Regions from separate parts of the Homo sapiens genome. Here all the other regions are linked to region 2. The links are contacts of gene promoters, found by promoter capture Hi-C in human tissues and cell types (Jung and others, 2019). All regions are on one chromosome and are shown on one strand. Each heading gives the region's core, a stretch centred on a gene start or on the middle of the fragment in contact. The rest is flanking DNA. Distances are from core to core; before and after follow the strand shown.

Region 1 (3,668 bases), core at 17-2,516, 350 kb after region 2:
TGAATAGCTACTCACGGGGCTGTTGAGGATTAAGTAAACTGAGTATTTGAAAGGGCTTCATAAGATAACATAATACAAATATTAATTATTAACACTCATCCCTGTAGTGTGGGAAGTGATTTAAGATGTCAGAATTACAGTGAAATTCTGCATGCTTAATAAGAATAGAACAATAGCCTTCAAAAGAGATGAATATTCTACTTAGAACATTCAAAGACATAACGTCAACAGAGACCACTTAACTTCCTAACTCAGGAAATAGTTTATAAATAACTTGATTTTTAGAGATTGAACAATGGATTATTTGGATTATTCAGTCTTAAATTAGGTAGGCCTTTTGTTCTCCCTCTATCTCTTGCTAATTGTACATATTAAGGTTAGAAGAAAATGAAAACCAAGAAGGTGTGCTGCCTGAGAGGGAAACCAGTTGGCCACCAAGTGTTCTTCCCCAAGTGGCACCCTTATTGCCTTCCCCCCAGCACTTAGTCACCAGGTCATCTCTCAGGGACAGATTCACATTAGTGGAGTTCAGATGTGTAAACTAGAATTCTATTTTATTGATTTACGAGGAGACACCTTGCTGAGGAGCTGAACATCTGCATTATTTTTGCCAGTAAGTTGTAGACACACAAATAACAGTTATAGAAACAGAAAAGCCAAATTATGGTGGTTTAAACAAGACAGACAATTCTCTTTCCCATAAAGGAAGTCTGGGCATATGCAAGTCCAAACCGATATAGTAATTTCAATGTGTCATTGAAATATAAGCTTTTATTCTTCTGCTCTGTCATCTTCAATCTGTAACTTCCTTTCTCAAGGTCACTCCATGGTCCAAGATGACTGCTAGAAGCCACTCATGATGTCCATGTCCCAGGCAGCAATAAGGAGTAAAGAAGAAAGAAGGATATATCCCCTGAGTTTCAAGAGACTTTCCATTAGTCCCATAAATATTTCCACTTACACTTCATTGATGAAGAGCTAGTCTCATAGCCCCATCTAGCTACAAGGGCAGTTGGGAAGTGTAGTCTTTTAGCCAGGCACATTGTTACCCCAAATAAAGTGGAGGTTCTATTATTAAGAAGGGAATGAAAAGGATGTTGAGGTAGGCATTTCTGCTGCAGCTACCAAATTACAATCATAAGGTGGCTGAATGAGCAAAGAGTTAGATATGTGATTTAAAGACCACATTGTTAGGCTGAGCTTCTCAAACTTCAAACACAGTTTGGCTCAAACACAGCTAAGGCTGAACTTCTCAAACTTCAGTGTGCACACGAATCACCAGGGATCTTGCTAAAATGCAGATACTGGTTCAGAATATCAGAGGTTGGGACTGAGATTCTGCATTTCTAACAAGCTCCCAGATAATGCTGGTCTGTGGATCACATTTGGAGTAGAAGGACCTAAGGCATCATTCCCAACATTATTGGTATTTTCTCCAACAGTCAGAGGGAAGCAGGGAATGCAGCCGGAGTACTGCATGGGGAACCATGGGCTCGGGGTGCTTTGGGTGCCTGGAATTGGGGTAAGTGGACACTAGCTAAAGTTCAATGCTACAACTTGCTCTAACTGAACCTACTATAGCACCTTTCCCTTTCACAGCATCTGCCCTACATGCATACTGACTGAAATTCCTTCAAGGAGTGAGTTAAGAAAGAGGGAGGAATGAGAAACAGGGGAAGGTAGCCACTCTGGGCATCATGATCTTTACTCAGAATTCAGTCTACTGTTTAAGAGAACAGACTTTGGTTACACTGAGGCAGGAATTTTACTTTTGCCCTGCCTTGAGAAGTGCCTTGGGTAGGATGTAAGGCCATCGAGATGGCTCCCAGACCCAAGATATCCACCTTCTACCACCCATGGAAAAAGCCAAAACTACAACACCAAATGTCTCTTGCTTTGCTTTGCTCCTACTTAGCCCAATAGACTTCTCCAGATCACAGAGGATAATTCTTTTTGATTATATGTGGGACTCCATCAACTGCCCATTCTTACTAGTTATGCCATTGCAAAAGGGCCACATAAGAGAGACATAGGTTACTACTATATTGTAAACTCCTGGAAGGTTTTTGTTTTTTTTTGTTTGTTTGTTTGTTTTGTAAAGAAAAGCCAAAGAAGCTGGGCACAGTGTCTCACACCTGTAATCCCAGCACTTTGAGAGGCCAAGGTGGGCAGATCAATATGAGCTCAGGAGTTTGAGACCAGCCTGGCCAAAATGGCGAAACTCCATCTCTACTAAAAATACAAAACTTAGTTGGGTGTGGTGGTGCATGCCTATAGTCTCAGCTACTCTGGAGGACAATTGCTTGAACGCAGGAGGCAGAGGTTGTAGTGAGCCGAGATGACACCTGTAATCCCAGCACTTTGGGAGGCTGAGGCGGGTGGATCACCTGAGGTCAGGAGTTCAAGACCAGCCTGGCCAACATGGTGAAACCCCATCTCTACTAAAAATACAAAAATTAGCCGGGTGTGGTGGCAGGCGCCTGTAATCCCAGCTACTTGTGAGGCTGAGGCAGGAGAATTGCTTGAACCTGGGAGGCAGAGGTTTCAGTGAGCTGAGATCGCGCCATGGCACTGCAGCCTGGGCAACAAGAACGAAACTCTGTCTCAAAAAAAAAAAAATGCAGATTTTGAGTCCGTAGGTTCTTGGGAGAGGCAGTGCACCATGGACCCTGAATGCCCCTATATGTTCTTGCTCTGTATGACAAGAATGCAAGACTCTGGCTGCTTATTACCAGGACCAATTCTCAGGGTTGTTCTTGCAGAGAGTAATTTCATGGAATGAATTAATTTCCCTCAGCAGCTCCCCCTACCCTAAACAAAAAACAAAGAGCAGGCTTGCTTACTGCTCAATATAAAAACAGTGAATTCCCTAATCTCAGTGTTTCTCAGCTGTGACACAAACCCAGCATCATCTGGGCCTCTCCACATCTCCCCTATGAGACCTGGGAGACATGGGGAACTGATGAAAAACAATGTTATGCTCATGATGCCAGTTGTGATGTGAGTAACAAAATCCTTTATCTCTGACCCAGGGCTCGTGTGCTCTGTCAGCATCCATGAAATAGTAACAGGCTAACTTATTAACCTGGAATTAAGATAAAATATCGGATCCTTCATAGACACTGACATAGTTCTTGGGGTGGGACCTGAGATTCCACCTTTCTAACAAACCACCAGGTACTTCTGGTACTGCTCATCCAGGGACCACTTTTTGAGTAGTAATAGTTTTGAAACATTAAGCCCTGGATTTGCCACTAACGATATGGCCTTGAGCAAGCTACTTCACATTTCTGAGACTGAGTTTCCACACCTACAAACAGATGAGTTTGAAGATCTCTTCCCAAATTAACTCTATGATTCCAGGTCCCTGTTACCATCAACAAGTAATGCCTCTTCCCATTCTTTCATTCCTTCAACCAAAACATTTATATACCCATCATTTGCAAGACACCAGGAATAGAAGGTTGAGTGATAGATGGATGTGCTCAGAGTTGGGCAAACAATGGACAGTTAAAGCTACCCCATAGGGAGACATAAAGACGGTGCTAAGCAAGTCAATTGCCTCCTTAAACTGGTTGAGTGACCACATAATTTATTCCAAACCAAGGCACTTTTGAGAGTGAAAGAGGAGGTTATTAATAGCTACACCAGGATGACAGGCATAAACT
Region 2 (3,827 bases), core at 74-2,573:
ACTTTTACTCCTGGAGGTCTTCCTGGCTAGGCCCTAGACTTAAAAGACACTAATTCCTTGTTTTATTTTATTAGATTGTCGTTTTTGCTTTCTTCTCAGCACACTTGATAAGACACTGTGAAGAAAATGTCCCTTCTGATCTCGTTTTTAACCTGTCTTGGAACAGATCAGCAGAAATGCCTTCACTGTGAATCAAAGATACCCTCGATTTATAGCCAAAGATTATTTCCTTTTCTTTTGGTGGCTTCCAGATAAAATGTTTCTTGCTACCCTTTCACAAAATAGAAGGAGGGACCAAGCGGAAGATAATCTTTTTGTTCAGAGGTCCATCTGTCAAAGCCTGCATTTTAGAGATGGCATTACTGAGGTCCAAAAACTAGAGCCACTCGCTCTGGGTCATACAGCCGATAAACGCACGCAGCCGAGCTCAGTTCTTCCCTGACCCTGTTACAAACTGCCTCACTAAATGAGGACCCCCATCCCCTTCCCATGCCAGGAAAGCACAGCTCATTTGTCCTAAAGTTAACATTACACAAATCACACCCTTCAAGCCTTCTTGAAACATTTTTTTTCCCCGAGGGTGACGGGACGGTTACGCTGATTCATCCTGGCCAGGGACCCCAAACATCTCCCCTCCTCCGGCCCAGGCGCCGTCACCCAGGCTCCACCGGTCCGCGGGACAGAGCCGCGGAGAGCGCCTGGAAGCGTCGCGCCCTCAAAGCCAAGCGATTAAGTTGGTTCCTCAAATTGTTCCCGACAGGAGGGGCAGGAAATAACACCGGGCTCTGGCGGCGGCCGCAGCAGGAGGGGGAGAAGAGCGGGCCGTCTCCCGGGCAGTGCTGGCGGCCTCTCATCGATCTCGGGTCTAAGGTCCGGCCGGGTCATCATTCCTGCCATTTCCACAGCATTCGAGGTACCACATCACCCCCTGCCTCGGTCGTCGCTCAGTCATTCCCTCCGCGCCGAGTCCTGGAGCGGCGGAGTCCCTGGAGGCCTGGGTTTCCTTAAGGGGCCCCAATGCCCGCAGCCCCCGACCCGCCCAGGTGGAAGGAAACAGGCTGCGGGCCTGGGCCAGGCGGGGCCTGACAGAAGTAAAGGCCGGGAGGGGGAGCGGAAGACGGCCAGAAGGACCCCTGCGCCCTCTCCTCCGCGCCGCCCGCCAGGCTGCCAACCCAGCCACCCTGGGTGCGACGCGGCGCCTTCTCCGCCGCTGGGAGTCGGGCAACAGGTGAAGAGGGCGGGCGTCCGCGGCGCCTCCGCGGGGCGGTCCCTCTCCTGCCCGCCTCCCGCCCGCCCCTCTCCCCGCCCCCTCCCCTCCTCCGGGCCTCCACCGCCTTCCCCGGCTGCCCGGCAGCCTCCCCTCGCTCGCTCTCCTCTTCCTCTAGGGCCCCAGCGCAGCTCGGGAGCCCGCGCACCGAGGCGCTAGGGGCACCGCGCACTAGAGGGACACCCGCCGCGCCTGGACAGCCCCCGGCGGGCGCCCCCCTCGCACCTCCTGCCCCGCGCGGGCCGCGCTCCCCTCCCCCGCGCCTGTGTCCCCAGGGCGCAGGGCCGCGCGTCCAGCCCCAGACCCGCCGGGGTCCCTGGGGACGCGCCAGCCCGGCAGTGGCTCGACGATGGAGGAGCCGCAGCGCGCCCGCTCGCACACAGTCACCACCACCGCCAGCTCCTTCGCAGAGAACTTCTCCACCAGCAGCAGCAGCTTCGCCTACGACCGGGAGTTCCTCCGCACCCTGCCCGGCTTCCTCATCGTGGCCGAGATCGTGAGTGCCGACGGGCCGGGGGTGGCGGGGGGCTCAGCTGGACCCCGGCGCGTGCTTCCGCCGTGCTTCTCGGGATGGAGCCTGCTCAGATCTTCCCGCGGGCTTTAGGGAACCGTTTTTGCTCAGCCTCGCCTTCTTCCCAAAGTGAAAGACTCTAAACAAGGTCCAGGAAACTCGGGCTGTCCTGGGAAGAAAGGGTTGTGATCCTCAGGATGTCTTGCTGTGGGAGAAATTCAGCTTGTTGGGTCCTCTCGGTGGCGGCGGCAGATCCTGGGAGCAGGAAGCTTGGCTTAGTGGCTATTGAGTTTGTGTTGAGTGTCAGAGACACCTGGTGCCTTTCTCACCTGATCTCCACGTGGATGGCCTCCTCCCTGAAAATAAAGCTTCCTAAGATCAGGGGAAGAGGAAAGGGCTTCTTTCTTTTCCTAATTATCTCCCTGGTAGTAACATTGAGGTGAGTCAGGAAAATTTTACTGAATAAAATCTGAGTGCCATAACCTATTTTAGGACCAAAGAGGTCTTTTGCATGGTGCTGTGCACATCCTGGTTTAGGCTCAGAACATTCCTGGGAAGGAGGCAGGGCATGGGCGTTCTTCTCTTCATTGGAGGGCATAGAGGCTGAAAACTCACGTGATCTTCCCAGAAGTCCCAGCCAGTCCTTCATAGCTGAGAAAGGACTGGAGTCCTGTCAGCAGTTAGAGGTGGTCACTGTTTGAGTCTTCTTCGTGTACCAGGATCTTGTCAAGCCCTTTAGATGTCCTCATACCCTCGTGTAATCCAACGACCACCCTCCCCTGTGAAGGCCTAGAGAGGGGACGTAAATCACACCGGTGGATGGTGAAGCATGGATTCAAACCCAGGCCTGCCTTTCTGCAGGGCCGTGCTCATAACTGCAAGCAGTTGAGACAGCTTCCAGCTGCCCCAGCAGTGCCCCTCTGTCATCTCTCACAGACTTTTGTTAAATATTTGGGAATTGAAAATGAGCCTATGTGGGAGTTAGAGAATGGGCACACCATCATGGTGCAGAAGTGACTGAAGACCTGGGCGGTTCCTTTGAGAAACCTGAAGTAAATCTTGTGTACCTCAAGTAGCTTGCTTGCTCCCCCAGTCTCAGATACCACCCGGACCTGCTCTATGAAGCCCCTGGTGGTCATAATGCACATAAGGTATGAGAAGTGTTGGCTTAGCTCCTCTCCCAGCTGGTTCCCTCAGCGAGTATTGAGGACTTCAGGAGACTCAAAAGCTGAAGGTATTGGAATCGCCTTGCAGGGCCTAGCTTTTAGGAGTTCAACAAATATTTGCTGTGCAAATGAAGGAGTTGGCAGGCTCCTCTGCTTCAGCAGCGCAAACAAAAGCTAAAATGACAGAGATGGGCCTTCTACCTTGGGGTGGATTTGGGCCAGGCATGAAGTATAACGCCTTTGGGTTTTTTTCTGATTTATTATCGATATGCTCTGTGTACTGCGCTTTTTCAGGAAATACAAAAGTGAAAGAAATGTAAGTGGCCCACAATCCCATTACTAGAAATAATCACTGTTGACATGTTAGCATGTATCCTTTTAGATTTCATTAAGCGTTTTGAAAAAGATGGGAAAACATGTAAGCAAAATCACCCTTATTACTACTATAGTTTTTATTTTTGACAGAGCTAATTATGCACCTTTTTTGTTTGTTTTGTTTTGTTTTGAGACAGGGTTTTGCTCTGTCTCCCAGGCTGAGGTGCGGTGGCACCATCATGGTTCACTGCCGCCTTGACCTCTTGGGCTCAAGCGATCTTCCCATCTCAGCCTCCCAAGTAGCTGAGACCACAGGCATGCACCAACACACTTGGATAATTTTTAATTTTTTTCTAGGGACGGGGTCTCTCTGTGTTGCCCAGGCTGCTCTGAAACTCCTAGGCTCAAGCAATCCTCCTGCCTTGGCCTCCTAAGGTGCTGGGATTGTAGGCATGAACCACTGTGCCCCACCTTATGCACATATTTTAAAGATTCGGTCCTACAGGCAGAAATATAAGTTTCTCCCAGTGTCTTCATCTCTTTGAGCTCTAAACAACGTGTTTATAAT
Region 3 (4,030 bases), core at 351-2,850, 470 kb before region 2:
AAGAATATTCTAATATTCTAACTTGAGCTTGATAGCATATACAAACTGGGCCTTAGCTCTACCCAGTAAACACCTGCCATTCCCTTTTAAAACTTAATTGCTGTTTTTAGATCAAATAGCCACCCAAAGTAGCAGGCAAGAACATGACTACATACTTCTCTTTTCCACCTAGAATTAATTTCACTAGTGCCAATTATTTTCAGGAAAGAAATGCATCTCCAAATGGCACTTGAAAAAAGAAAAAAAACTGGGCAAAAATTTCACACCTCCAGGCAAATCCTTTACATCATTTGAGCTTTAGCAAATGAAACTCTGGAGAGACAAGTGCATTTATCAGGAATCTGCTTCATTAATCTGAAAGGGAAAATTATGTTAAGGAATAAGCCACCATTAATTAACGTTTATTGTATCCCCACTGGGTAAATGACACTGCAGTCACCATTTTACAGAAGAGAGAACACAATTCCTGCACACGAACTGCTTACAATGTAATCCTCAAGGCACACAAATATGACACAGAATAATGATATATAATACACAGTGCTTTGCAAAAGAGCTAACCGCCCTTTGCAGACACCTGCATTTAGAACTGCTTTCTACTCCTTCTCCACACTTCCTCACTGCTCTGAGCATGCACTTTTAAAAAGAGTACATGTAAGAGTATATAGTCCATGATCACTGTTCATATAAACACACAGAATGAACTCACTATAACGAATATAGTTCCACATATATCTCTCTCCACGGCCCAGCCTGCTGGTGGAATCAGTCAATTAATTCACTGCCAAACTCTTTCTGGGCAGGGCCCATAATGTCTTATTCAAAGGAGATGCCTGATGTATGTTTGTTGGGTGGATAAATGGAGGAGAGGGGACGGGAGAGAAGAAATGGGAAGACAGGGCAAGTGAAAGGAAGGGCGATTAAAGGGAGGCAAAACAGGGGAAGAAGAGAAGGGAAGAATAAAGAAAGAGGAACGAAGGAAGAAGGATCGAGTTCCAAAGCTTCTAGAAGTTTTAAGATGCCAGCACGGTTCTCTAGCAAATTTGAGAACTCCTTTTCATTGCCCCTAGTTTGTTGTTACTACTTTCACTCAAGGAATAAAAGATCTTGTCTCTTTTTAGCCTGGGACCTTGAAGCTTCAGGCTTAACCATCATTTCTCTCCAGTACCAATCTCCCAGCAAGGGTGGAGCATTTTAACTGCACATTATATATCTCTGGACACACAATCCCAAATTTCTTAGAGCCTCTAACTTAATCTATATGATCGTGGGATAAAGAAGGCATTATCTGAATGAGTTCCAGGCTCAACTTCCAGTGAAGTCCATGACATGTTTTTCTCCTAGTCAATTTTTATTCCTTCTTCGACCCCGGCTTACAGGTTGTTTTCACCAGATAGCCTTCCATCATCCTCCCAAAAGGCCATGATCCCCATCATCCATAAAACACATCATGGTTGTAATTAACTAACTACTTTTTTTCTTTTTTTTTCTGGAGACAGGGTCTTGCTCTGTCACCCAGGCTGGAGTGCAGCGGCGAGATCATGGCTCACTGCAACCTCTGCCTCCTGGCCTCAGATAGTCCTCCCACCTCAGTCTACCAAGTAGCTGGGATTACAGGCATGTGCCACCATGCCCAACTAATTTTTGTGTTTTGTTTTGTTTTTGTTTTTTTTTTGTAGAGACATGATTTCACCACGTTATCCAGGCTGGTCTAGAACCCCTGAGCAAGTGATCTGCCCACCTCAGCCTCCCAAAGTGCTAGGATTACAGCCATGAGTCACTGTGCCCAGCCTCTACTGATGTGTTATGTTACTAATTTGTTAATTTCTCTTGCCCTTACCAGGCTCTCGGTGCCACTTTGTCTCTTCTGTTCACTGTTGTTTCCCCAAACCTAGGACAAGATGTGGCAAACTGTGGGCAAAAAAATATCAGCTGAAAGCATGAGTGAGTGAGTGAATGAATGAATGAATGAATGAATATACAAAGGAGAGCACCCAGGCATCTCTTTGAGAGCTGGGAAGGGGCTGTTCTCCTCCCTTCGGACAGGTAAGAAGATTGGTCTCAATGCCACTATGAGATGGATCCATTTGAACAAAAACAATGTATACACCCAATCTAAGTGACAGCCAGTGGGACTTTAAAATTAGCAAGTGAAAAAGGAGGTACAATACCATTTCTGGGGATAAGTAGGACCAGGTTTGGGTTTTTTTTCTTGCTCTATCAAGACTGAGAAGTTCAGTAGTCAGGGGACAAGGTTTCATATTTTCCTTGTATACCTCCCAGGGTTTAGTTGATCATGGTCACAGAGAAAGTTTAGTAACAAAGAAGTGAAACCACCCACACTCATGCAAGGAGAAGGGGATTTGTTGCATGGATACAGGAAAGAGTGCCCAGAAACTACTTGAAAGAGCTACTCTTTCTTTCCTTCAGAGATATGGCCGTCTCTTATTTCTCTCTATCCCCTGGTCTCTATGGTCGCTGGTTTTCACACCTTTCTCTCCTCTTCTTGCTCAACTCAACTTCCTCCACTTGCAACAAAGCCCAGCAGAGCCGCTGGAGCCAAATCTACCCAATCCTCTAGTTTCTTCTCCTAATTCAGATGAGAGAAAGTGAGTTTACGTTATTGGCTCTGGGTCACATGCCTGCCTGAGCCCACTCAGCTGACACTGGAGATGTGGAAAACAGTGGCCATGTGACACACCATGTGGACACAGATCCCCCACTTCAACATAGGGTCTTCCCTCTGCCCACTGCTCTGTGATGTTTGGCCCAATGTAGTTTTTTTGTTTTTTTGTTTTTTTTTGTTTTTTTTTTGAGACACGGTCTCACTTCATCACCACCCAAGCTAGAGTGCAGTGGCACAATCATTGCTCATTGCAGACTCAACCTCCAGGACTCAGATGATCCTCTGAGCTCAGCTTCCCAAGTAGCTGGGAGTATAGGCTCACACCATGACACCCAGATAATTTTTATTTTGGTAGAGATGGGGTCTCATTATGTTGCCCAGGCTGGTCTTGAACTCCTAGCCTCAAGCAATCTTCCTCCTCAGCCCCTCAAATTGCTGGGATTACAGGTATGAGCCACTGTGCTGGCCCCAGTGTAGAATTCTGACATTCATGAGCTATAAGGATACATACTATTTACAAATACTTTTAAAACTCACTTCACAAGATTTGTAGGTCAACTGGAACATCAGTTAAGGCTTTTATCCAAGACAATTAATCAAATAATGGAGCATTTCTCTAAACTTAATGCTGGCATGACATGAATGCCAGGTTACAAAGCTTCCTGTCAGAGGGCCTGAAAGTGTACTAACTTCTTATAAATGCCTGTGATAAACACCCAGCTGTAACCAAGCCCAGAACACCCCACCTCCTCTTTCTTTCATTTGCAGTACAATCTCATAATGAAAAGCCAATAGAATCTGCCAGGTTATAGAGGAGATTAAAAAGAGATGAGGGCTCAATCCACAGTCCTCTCTAAGCTTAGCCTTTCCCTGGTGATTCCTAAGTCTAGAAAACAACCCAATTAGCTACGTTATACTACTTTTTCATATCAGGTCTGGAGGGCTATACTTTCATTAACTTTGTGGAAATTAAAATTACCACTGAGGAGCTCTGGATTTTGCTACAATATTAGCCAATTCTCTCTTTCAAGAGCCCTCTTGTGTTTTGCTCATGCAGTTGTGATTAAAACAGTTCCCTCTGTTCATGGGAATAAGTTCTTCTCCCACGACCATCACTAAGCCAGTGAGAAAAAAACTCAACTGTGGTCCCTGCAATAACCACTTGGAAAGTACAGGATCTAAAAAATATAATTGTGTGTAATTCTCACAAACGGTGGCTTTGTATCTTGTCCCTGCCTCCTCATAAATACACTACCTACTTGGGCAACATGACACCTCTTGAATTCCTGTCAGGTTACATCTGCCTAGAAAGCTTTTCCTCCCCATCTCTCATGGTCAAAGTCCTACCAGGCTTCCAATGCCCTTCCTCAGTTCTTCATGAAGCCTTCCTTATCTCCCACTTAG

What was found. The method cuts DNA at HindIII sites, captures the fragments that hold promoters and counts their contacts. A contact is called where the count stands out against the background at its distance.
Region 1: a fragment that was not itself captured here is called in contact with the fragment with the promoter of CMTM8 in region 2 in 1 of the 25 tissues and cell types used here (liver).
Region 3: a fragment that was not itself captured here is called in contact with the fragment with the promoter of CMTM8 in region 2 in 1 of the 25 tissues and cell types used here (mesenchymal stem cells).

Annotation. Positions count from the first base shown.
Region 1 is chr3:32,588,630-32,592,297 of GRCh38, forward strand. No RefSeq gene overlaps it. Among named protein-coding and RNA genes, the nearest start is that of DYNC1LI1, 20 kb to the left of the region's middle. The HindIII fragment of the contact is 6,364 bases long and covers 1-3,668 here.
Region 2 is chr3:32,237,357-32,241,183 of GRCh38, forward strand. It overlaps CMTM8 (CKLF like MARVEL transmembrane domain containing 8), which reads left to right and starts at 1,324. Exons shown (of 4, transcript NM_178868.5): 1 at 1,324-1,763. The coding sequence starts at 1,617. RefSeq lists a silencer at 1,128-1,337. The HindIII fragment of the contact is 9,285 bases long and covers 1-3,827 here.
Region 3 is chr3:31,763,544-31,767,573 of GRCh38, forward strand. The region is part of intron 4 of OSBPL10 (oxysterol binding protein like 10); the gene reads right to left. Among named protein-coding and RNA genes, the nearest start is that of OSBPL10-AS1, 61 kb to the left of the region's middle. The HindIII fragment of the contact is 3,568 bases long and covers 1-3,384 here.